Linked DNA regions of Homo sapiens: all the other regions are linked to region 1. The links are contacts of gene promoters, found by promoter capture Hi-C in human tissues and cell types (Jung and others, 2019). All regions are on one chromosome and are shown on one strand. The core of a region is centred on a gene start or on the middle of the fragment in contact, and the rest is flanking DNA. Distances in the headings are between cores, read along the strand shown.

Evidence for each region. The method cuts DNA at HindIII sites, captures the fragments that hold promoters and counts their contacts. A contact is called where the count stands out against the background at its distance.
Region 2: a contact is called between a fragment that was not itself captured here and the fragment with the promoter of GPR18 in region 1, in 4 of the 25 tissues and cell types used here (dorsolateral prefrontal cortex, lymphoblastoid cells, mesenchymal stem cells and 1 more).
Region 3: a contact is called between a fragment that was not itself captured here and the fragment with the promoter of GPR18 in region 1, in 3 of the 25 tissues and cell types used here (IMR-90 fibroblasts, lymphoblastoid cells and thymus).

The regions. Positions count from the first base shown.
Region 1 is chr13:99,256,796-99,260,285 of GRCh38, reverse strand. It overlaps GPR18 (G protein-coupled receptor 18), which reads left to right and starts at 1,907. Exons shown (of 2, transcript NM_001098200.2): 1 at 1,907-2,132. All of the region lies in intron 4 of UBAC2 (UBA domain containing 2), which reads right to left. LOC124903198 (a long non-coding RNA gene) reads left to right here. Exons shown (of 3, transcript XR_007063846.1): 2 at 38-147; 3 at 1,700-1,847. The HindIII fragment of the contact is 6,968 bases long and covers 1-1,920 here.
Region 2 is chr13:99,406,702-99,410,191 of GRCh38, reverse strand. It overlaps the pseudogene CCR12P. Among named protein-coding and RNA genes, the nearest start is that of LNCARGI, 24 kb to the left of the region's middle. The HindIII fragment of the contact is 3,754 bases long and covers 1-3,461 here.
Region 3 is chr13:99,099,326-99,102,815 of GRCh38, reverse strand. No RefSeq gene overlaps it. Among named protein-coding and RNA genes, the nearest start is that of DOCK9-DT, 14 kb to the right of the region's middle. RefSeq lists a silencer at 2,823-2,988. The HindIII fragment of the contact is 7,602 bases long and covers 1-3,490 here.

The DNA of each region.
Region 1 (3,490 bases), core at 658-3,157:
AAATATGCAGTAACAATGCAAACATGTGCCACTACAGGGATAGGTACCAAGTGCTAAGGAAACCTGCAGGGATGAACAACCAGCCCAGCTTCGGAGGGCAGAGAAACCAGCCCAGCTTCGGATGGCAGAGAAAGCTTCCTGAAAAAGGTAGCTACAAGAACAAAGAGCAGCAGGCCATGCCATCAGGTGGGAGACAGTGGTGAGGAATGCCACAGTGGGTGGAACAGCATGTGAGAGGCAGGAAGAGCAAATGTAGCCAGTCCAGAGGGCTGGAATGGAGAGCAAGATGAGGAAAAAGTGAGAGCTCACCCCAACCTGAAGCCAGGCCTATGGAGAGCCCTCAGGTGCTCCTGGATGCCTCCTCTAAGAGTCTGGCAATTCAGAAACAAGAATGCCCCTGTGCACCGTGAAGAATTCAAGTCTTGATGAAAGGACTCTTCTAGACACATGCCATCAATGTATCTGTTGATTTTAGCAGCAATGGGGAAGCTAATCAATACTTAATTTTAGAAAAGTCCTAAGCTATGTGAATAAGGCAAAGGACAGATTAGGTCTGCATGCAGGCAGATTTCTGTCCAGCTGAAACATCAAACTCCTGTGTGATGAATGAAATATAACATCACATATAAAAAACTGATGAATGTGATTCAGCCATAAGAAGTCCTATCTAGTGGACAGATCAATATAATTACCTCATAAGAAGTTATTACAGCGGGAGAAACTGGACCTGGCTTTACCTTGAGTTCTTAAGCAAGTAACTGGCCTTCAATTTCTTCATCCACACAAGAAATAGTTGCTATGGTTGTCTCCAACACTTCTAAAACCCATCATTCTGGCAGGTTGTAACAATCAAAAGTATTTTATCACCAAAGGCAAGGATTTAAGTAACTTTTCTAAGCCACAGATTTACTATGGTTTTGTCTGAGAAAAAAAAAAAAAAGGATGGACCCCAAACTGTCTAAAATTCAAAAAAACAAATACATTTAAGTTCATGAACCCTTTAAAAAGTTGACAAACCATGCATAACCAAACATAAAGATAATTAAAATTTTAGGATAAGCAAATGAGAGATAATTTTTTTTAAGAAATGAGAAAGTAAAACAAAATTAACCTAACAAGGCAGGCAGCGATTCGTTGCTCACTTCCCTTTCTGCTGGTTTCATTTCCCTTCTTAGGTGAAAACACTCTTAATATGTAAATCAGTCCACTAAAGACTTCAGAGTCCTTTCTGCTAAGATTTGCAGAAATTTTTATGCAAAAGAAATTATTTCTAGACTTCCACGCACTAGAAAAGCAGACTTACAAAATACAGCAAACTAAAGTGGATAAATGTATGTGGCAAAGCAGAAGCAATTAATCAAGGATCCTACTTTTAAGCATTTAGAAATGTTTAAATAGTAAAAAGTGGAAATGTGGATATTCTATGATTTTTAATAACTTGGTAGTAAAAAGTGAGACTCCATTTAGGAGTACCTACTAAGTGCCAGGTACTATTAAGCACTTGGGATCTTTCTGGTTTAGGGCCCCTACAATCCTACTGGATATAGTATTATCTCTATTTCAACTGTACAGAAATGAAGTAGGAACAAAGGGTTAGTCAGAGTGGGTAGGTAACTAGACAAAGTCACATAGCTTATAAAGCAAAGAAGCTAGACTTTAAACCCCCTTTTACTCAATATCAAATCTTCTCTTTCCATAGATGATGCAGACTTCAAGCATCAAAGTACACAAACTGAAGAAACTTTATCCTTTGTATATAATTATCTTAAATATATGCCATCATTTCAAGGGGAGCTTATGCTAAGTGTGACTTCATAAACAAATCATTTGTGAAAGAGAAAAACCACATCCAGGGTAAAGTCATAAGGTGAAAAAGCCTATTTCAGAGAGCACTTCCTGAAAGAGACAAAGCAGCAATTAAAGTCAGCCCAGCACCAACTCCGACGCCAAGCGTTACACTGGAAACTACTTTTTAAAGCAACAAAAGAGTCTAAAACAAAATACAACATTTCTTAAATACACTGTTTCCAGAAAGAGCTATTTTAACAGAAGCAACTCAAAGATATCCCTTCGACAGAAGTGGAAGTGCTGAAAAATGCTCATCTCTCACACAGACTTTTGATGGACAGGAGGTAAGCAGCATTTAATTAACTTCATGATTATTGTCAAAAGTAATGCTTTATGTACTGCATTTCAAAAATCATTTCATTTTAATAATACAGGCTGGGCGCAATGGCCCACGCCTGTAACTCCAACACTTTGGGAGGCCAAGGCAGGAGGATCAGTTGTGCCCAGGAGCACCATAGTGAGACCCCGTCTCTATTAAAAAAATATATTTAATTAAAAAAATAAACATAACAAACTATGTTGGTGAAAGACCTTGAAATAGGCTATATAATCATCTTTCCACATTAATATGATTTTACATTTATTTTCAATATTGCTTTACATTAATACTAAATGTAATTTTTTTCAACTTAAGGAAAGAAAATGTTTATGGTAAATCATATGTATATTTAGGAATGTTCATCACATGTTTTCAATTACATTGTTTCATGAAATAACTTAATGGTTTTTAAGAAAAGAAAAGCTACAGATAATCATGGTATCTATAGCTTTTAAAAAGCTGACTTTAAAGTCAATCACTTTTCAATATTTATCCAAAAATTTCTGTGTTTGCAGAGCACAATCAATACTATAATGCCTTTAAAACACATGCATCACTCATTTTTTTTCAAACGTCAGCAAATGAATATAAGTATTGGTGACAAGCTACATAAAAACAGCTTGAGCATAACGTGGGAAAAAAGACTCAAGATGGTTTGTAAGTACAGGACTTATGTCACAAAATTGAAGGATGAGGATAGGTGAAGGGAGTCCTGATGCAATACTAAAAAAAGAAAAACAAATACAAAATTTCATTTATATTATAATTGCTACTATTTAATAAGAATGCATTCCAGTTAAAAATAAGATTTAAGCCTCCAAGATTACTCTCCTTTGAATGACACTAGAGATATAATTTTTCTCTGTAGCACTTTCCTCATTTGATAGAAATTAATATTCTAGTCACACCAATATTTGGAAAATTTAATATGTTTTTAAATATATAGAATTATGCTCCTAAATCATATTTAACCTAAATATTTGAGAAGGAAAGAAGGAGAAGAAGGGAAGAAAGGGAAGGGAAGGGAAGGGAAAGGAAGGAAGGCAGACAGGCACGTTTCTTGTGTTTAACCACAGCAATTGCTCAAGTTAATTCTTAATTATCAATAGCCCGTGATGCCACTGACCACAGACAGCAAATCTCCCCCATAGTTTTCCTTAAAGAGAAATTCTGGGCTGATTTCAAGACAGCCCACTCTGCAAAGTGACATTTTTGAAGGAAACTTTTCATCCACCTCCATATTACAAGGGGATGCCACAGATTCCATCTCATTGCAGCAAAGTCTATTTTTGAAGTCTGTTGTTGGTGTTGCATCATGGGGGA
Region 2 (3,490 bases), core at 335-2,834, 150 kb before region 1:
AGGAGGTGGAGGTTACAGTGAGCCAGGATCACTCCACTGCACTCCAGCCTGGGCGACAGAGCAAGACTTTGTCTCAAAAAAAGAAAAAGAAAAGCCGAGGTTCAAGAAGGCCAACAGGTCAGCAGATAACTGCCATTGAAGGACAGTTTGCTACTCACAGATCCCAAGAGGAGGGCACGCCCCATCACGCAGGGCCACCGGGGAGACATAGGGTTGGTCAGGAGGTGAAGGGAGCAGGGGAAAATGTGGGCAAGAGTGGTTTTAGGGTACACAGGCTTAAGATTGGGTGGTTTGAATCATTTCAGCAAGCTCTGAGACATGAGGACTGTCCCCATTTGTGTGGTACCTGGCCCTGGGGTGTTTAGGGCAGGTGGATAGTGTCCTGGTGTGTGAGAGCTGTAAATGGAGCCCGTGGAAGCTAAGGACTCTGGATTGGTAGGTTTGCATTTGAAGAACTGAAGAGCGTGTTCATGGGTGAGTTGTTTACTGTCTCTAGGAATTGGCTAACCCGGGAAGGGGCAGTCCCTCCACAGTCAGCAAGGTCCCCAAATGTTAAAGCATCAGAATACAGAAAATAAAAGACGTGGTTAACACATGCAGCTTCTGTCCTGTTTGCTGGGACACTCTCTTTCAGTGCCTCGAGCTGTCGTATCAGAAGTCTGATTACCCTGAGGCTGGCATGCTGGGAGAAGCCATAGGCAGATGCTCCCGTGGACAGCCCCAGCCGAGGTTCCAGCCAGCAGTCAGCTTCAACAGCCACACACGGGAGCAAAGTCGCTTCCAGGAGGCCCCAACCCGTGCCCCAGAGTAACCCCCAGCTGTTGATCCTTTTCAGCAGAGACCTCCAAGATTAGGGAGCAGAGAAAAATCATTCCCACTGTGCCCTCTTCAATATCCTGACCCACAGAATCCACAAACATGATAAAACTATGTTTCCAGTTGCCGTTTTGGGGTAATTTGTTACACAGCCATAGTAACCAGAACAGTATGTTGCACTTCAACAAAAAGCTTACTGAAAAAGACATGTTTTATTATACTTGTGCATGTTGCCTCAGCAAAACTATTCATTATTACAATTCCAGAGGCATAACCCCACAGATACAGTGTTTTTTTTTTCTTTTTTCCTCCCCAGGCAGCCACGTGAGATGGCTTCCGGCACTGCTGGCGTGAGTAGTCTTCCTGGCAATGCCAGCTCTTGCCGTCCTCACCTCCTGGCCCCAGTGGCCCGCATGACGCTCTCTGTTCTACACAGCCCTCCTGGTCTTCAGTGCCCTGGGAAACATCCTTGCCCTTTGCCTTACCTGTCAAAAGAGCAGGAAGATCAACTGCACAGGCATCTACCTGGTGCACCTGGCTGTGTCTGACCTGCTGTTCACCGTGGCCTTACCGGGAAGGGTGGTGTGTTATGTGCTGGGCTCCAGCTGGCCTTTCGGCAAGGGGCTCTGCAGGCTGACGGCGTTTGTGCTCTACACCGACACCTACGGGGGGTCTACCTCATGGCCTGTGTGAGCGTGGACCATTACCCAGCTGTGGTCTGTGCCCACTGGGGCCCGCGCCTCCGCACGGCTGGCCGCGCCAGGCTGGTCTGCGTGGCCATCTGGACCTTGGTGCTGCTGCAGACGATGCCCTTGCTCTTGATGCCCATGACCAAGCCGCTGGTGGGCAAGCTGGCCTGCATGGAGTACAGCAGCATGGAGTCAGTCCTCGGGCTGCCCCTCATGGTCCTGGTGGCCTTTGCCATTGGCTTCTGTGGGCCAGTGGGGATCATCCTGTCCTGCTATATGAAGATCACCTGGAAGCTGTGCAGCACAGCTGGGAGAACCCAGTGACCAGCGGGAAAGGACACCACCGGCGGGGCAGCCCAGGAGGACCCAGTGACCAACAGGAAAGGACGCCACCGGCGGGGCAGCCCAGGAGGACCCAGTGACCAGCGGGAAAGGACACCACCGGCAGGACAGCCCGAGAGGACCCAGTGACCAGCGGGAAAGGACGCCACCGGCGGGACAGCCCGGGAGGACCCAGTGACCAGCAGGAAAGGACGCCACTGGCGAGGCTGCCTGCTTACGCTGCTGATGCTGGTGGCCGTGGTGGTCTGCTTCAGCCCCTACCACCTCAACATCAAGCAGTTCATGGCGAGAGGGATGCTCCACCTGCCATCCTGTGCCGAGCGGAGGGCTTTCTTACTGTCCCTTCAGGCCACCGTGGCCCTCATGAACATGAACTGTGGCATTACCCCATCATTTACTTCTTTGCATCCACCCATTACAGGAAATGGCTCCTGGGCATTTTAAAGCTCAAAGGGTCTTCCTCCTCCTCCTCCTCCTCCTCCTCCACCCCAGGAAAAGCTTCTTCAGAAACACCAAGTATCACCCAGGCCAGAGGTTCTATGTTCTTAGCGGAGCACGTGGTCTAACGTGTCATTTGCTTTATGACTGTATCTAGGGAGGGGTCCAGCGTTGGGGTATTGAAGTTGATACAATTTGGGCAAAAGGTTTTTTAAGGAAAAGAATACAGAATAAGAAATACAAAATTAGGCCGGGCGCGGTGGCTCACGCCTGTAATCCCCGCACTTTGGGAGGCCAAGGTGGGCGGATCACCTGAGGTCAGGAGTTCGAGAGCAGCCTGGCCAACATGGTGAAACCCCATCTCTACTGAAGTACAAAAATTAGCCAGGTGTGATGGTGGGCACCTGTAATCCCAGCTACTCAGGAGGCTGAGGCAGCAGAATCACTTGAACTCGGGAGGCAGAGGATGCAGTAAGCCGAGATCGCACCACTGCACTCCAGCCTGGGCGACAAGAGCAAGACTCCGTCTCAAAACGAAAGAAAGAAAGAAAGAAATACAAAATTAGAGACAGGGTCTTTGAAGGGACAGTGTAAGGATGGAGCCCTGAAGTTTGGACTTCAGTATCCTGACAAACACAGCTCTAATATCTCTTAGTAAATGGTAGTGGAGTTCCTTCGCCCCTAAAGGGGTGTGGGGTGTTTTTTTCCAGGAAAAGTCTATTTTCATGGTAAATGCAGAAGAGCCTGAAAGAAGTGGCTGAGCACTAGATCAGCAATTTAGAGGATGCTTCCCGTTTGGGGGGTGAAATGCTGTAAAGAGCAAGAACACTTCCCCTTCTCTTACAGAGAAACTTCCCAATTCTTAGCCTTAACATTTACTAAAATGTCAAGGTTTTTCTGAAAAACTTGGAAAACACAGGGAGGATGCACAGCCAGGCGCTGAGCTGATGCCTCTGCAGAGGGTCGGGAGGGACTGTGCCAAGTGGGGAAGGGACTTCGTGTGCTTTTGTGTGGTGGTTTGGATCTTGTGCAATGTGAAAGCATTCACGGATGCACGTGTCATTGGGAAGAACAGGGGGAAAGGAAACAGTCAGAAAAGCAGGCCCTTTTTTTTTCATTTGTTTAGTGTCAGAAAGGCTGTATCCATTTAAATGCTGCTTACATTAGATCGAAACAAACCTTTGCAAGACCGAACTTTGAAAGAA
Region 3 (3,490 bases), core at 475-2,974, 160 kb after region 1:
AATTAGTGAGATATGAAACAAAACAGTTAAGATGAGTGATTAAGTCAATAGGAGTTATTCCGACACTGAGAAGGAAAGTATAACACAAAACTTCCAGATCATACCAAAACCAATCGTGCATTAGGAGGAAGGGATATTCTGTTAGGAGAAACAAATGATTCTATATTTAGATTATTTGAAATCTGAGTAATAAAGAGTTGTGAATTATATGAACTCACATAGAATTAAGCCTGGCGTGGTGGCTTATGCCTGTAATCCCAGCACTTTGGCAGGCCAAGGTGGGAGGATTGCTTGAGCTTAGGAGTTTGAGATCAGCCTGGGCAACACAGCAAGACCCTGTTTCTACAAAAAATAAAAAATTAGTCATGTGTGGTGGCATGTGCCTGTAGTCCCATCTAACCAGGAGGCTGAGGAGGGAGGATGTCTTGAGTGCAGGAGGCTGAGGCTGCAGTGAGCCATGATCATGCTACTGCACTGCAGCCTGGGCAACAGCACGAGGCCCTGTCTTAAAAAAAATAAAGAAAAATAATTTAAAATCTATGTGGGTTAAACATGAAATATTGACTTTGGTAAGGAGAACATAAAACTCTAAAAATATTTTTTTTTGTTAAGACACAGGGTCTTGCTCTGTTGCTGATATGGTTTGGCTGTGTCCCCATCCAAATCTCATCTTGAATTGTAGTTACCATAATCCCCACGTGTTGTGGGAGGGACCTGTGGAGGTAATTGAATCATGGGGGTGGTTTCCCTCATGCTGTTCTCGTGATAGTGAGTGAGTGCTCATGAGATCTGATGGTTTTATAAGGGACTTCCTCCTTTGCTCGGCTCTCATTCTTCTCCTTGCTGCCGCCACATGAAGAAGGATGTGTTTGCTTTTCCTTCTGCCATGACCGTAAATTTCCTGAGGCCTCCCCAGCCATGCTGAACTATGAGTCAATTAAACCTCTTTCCTTTATAAATTACCCAGTCTTGGGTATGTCTTTATTAGCGGCGTGAGAATGGACTAATACAGTTGCCCAGGTTGGAGAGCAGTGTCCAGTTCATTACTCACCATAGTCTCAAACTCCTGGGCTCAGGGGATCTTCACATCTCACCCTCCAAAGTAGCTGGGACCACTGGCATGCACCACCATGCCTAGCTAATTTTTTGTTGCTCCGGCTGGTCTCAAACTCCTGGCCTCTAGCAATCCTTCTGCCTTGGCTTCCTAAAGTGCTGGGATTACAGGTGTGAGCCATTGTGCCCGGCCTCCATAAAACTCTTAATTTTCCAATACAATGAGGACATTGATGACAAACTAGGTAATGAATATTGTCAACTTGAGGACTCAGACACAGAAAAACTGAAAGTATCCTAAAATATTACGGCTCATACATAAATTTATTTACTAACAATTTTCCTGAAATTTGACAAAATCCAAGAAAGTTACGAGATGTTACCAACAACTAGTTGCTTTGATAGAAGTAGAAAGAAGCATTTCTAAACTATCAATCATTTTCAAATGTCAATTACCAACGCTTAAGATAATTTTCTTTCTATTCTTGCCAAACAAAATATTACAAAATCACTGTCTTTTTAAGAGGCTATCAGAGTGTCTGCAGACAAAAATTATAAGAAAAAAAGCCTTTTAGAGATGCATGAGAAAATTTGTTTATAAAAATACTATTTTTTAGGATTATGTGATGTTTGTGGTATTAAGTAGCTTAAAAATTATAATTTACATGATTTTTCTTATACTAAATATCTCCTTTTGTACTCTAGTTGATATTTAAAACTCTGTATTTTTTCAAGAGGACCCCTAGAAATTGCATATGATTCAGACCACTTGACACAGGATTTGCCCATTCTTGTAAATTTCTAGGTGTCCTGCCTTAGGAACAGCCCCTCTTCACACTCAAGTGACTTTCATGCTCCCAGCTTTTCTGCTATTCCCTTCTTGGAGATGTATATATATTTATATATATAGTTTTATAATTTTTCTTTTTTTTTTTTTTTTTGAGACGGAGTCTCGCTCTGTCGCCCAGGCTGGAGTGCAGTGGTGCGATCTCGGCTCACTGCAAGCTCCGCCTCCCAGGTTCACGCCATTCTCCTGCCTCAGCTTCCCGAGTAGCTGGGACTACAGGCGCCCACCACTACGCCCAGCTAATTTTTTTTTTTTTTTTTTTTCAGTAAAGACGGGGTTTTACCATGTTAGCCAGGATGGTCTCGATCTCCTGACCTTGTGATCCGCCCGTCTCGGCCTCCCAAAGTGCTGGGGTTACAGGCGTGAGCCACCGTGCCCGGCCTAGTTTTATAATTTTTAATTGTGGCCAATACACATACAATTTGCAACCTTAACTATTTTTTTTTAGTGTGTAGTTAGTGGCATTAAGTACATTCACACTATTTTGGAACCGTCACCACCATCCATCCACACAACTATTTTCATCTTGTAAAACCGAAGCTCTGTACCCATTAAACAACAAGTCTCCATTCTCCTCTCCCTCCAGCCCCTGGAAACCACCATGCTGCTTTCTGTCTCTATGAATTCGACTATTCTAGGCATCCTGTAAAGTGGAATTACATAGTATTTGTCTTTTTATGACTGTTCAATTTTTTTTCTGATTCTTATTTCTTGAACTGTTGAAGATAGCCCCCATCTATTGAAACTTTATATTTTTATTTTTATTACCGTGTTTTCTGGAAAAAATTGTGTGAGTTTTGTTAAATAAATATTTTCCAAAGGAAACTGGTTTTGACTCCTGTTTCACCCAGTCAACTTAGGAAGACATTTGTTTTAAAATCATGTGGAATTTTTGCCCAATTTCTGCTGTATTGGCTCAATGAAAAGATGTATCTACAGTGGAAATAATTGAGAAGAAAGCTTTAGTTACTTCCTCAGACATAGCCTTCTTATCTGTGATGGGGTTTTTTTTGAAACAGAGTCCTGCTCTGTTGCCCAGGCTGGAGTGCAGTGGTGTGATCTTGGCTCACTGCAACCTCTGCCTCTGGGGTTCAAGTGATTCTTGTGCCTGAGCCTCCCAAGTAGCTGGGACCACAGGTGTCTGCCCCCACACCCAGCTAATTTTTGTATTTTTAGTAGAGACAGGGTTTCGCCATGTTGGCCAGGCTGGTCTCTAACTCCTGACCTCAGGTGATCCGCCCACCTTGGCATCTCAAAGTGCTGGGATTATAAGTGTGAGCTACCATGCCAGGCCCTGTGATGATTAATTTTATGCGTCGACTTGACTGGGCCACAGGATGCCAGGAAGCTAGTTAAACATGTTTCTGGGTGTGGTTGTGAGGGTCTCTCTGGAAGAGATGAGTATGTGAATGAGTGAACTGAGGAGAGCAGGTAGCCCGGTGTGGGTCAGTCTCTTGGCCTGACTCTCTGAGTTGGAACATTTGTCTTCCACCCTCAGTGCTACTGTTTCTCAGACCTTCAGACCTGGGTTCAAATCTATACCATTGGCTCTCCTACTTGCAGGCCTTTGAACTACCTCATCAGCTTTTC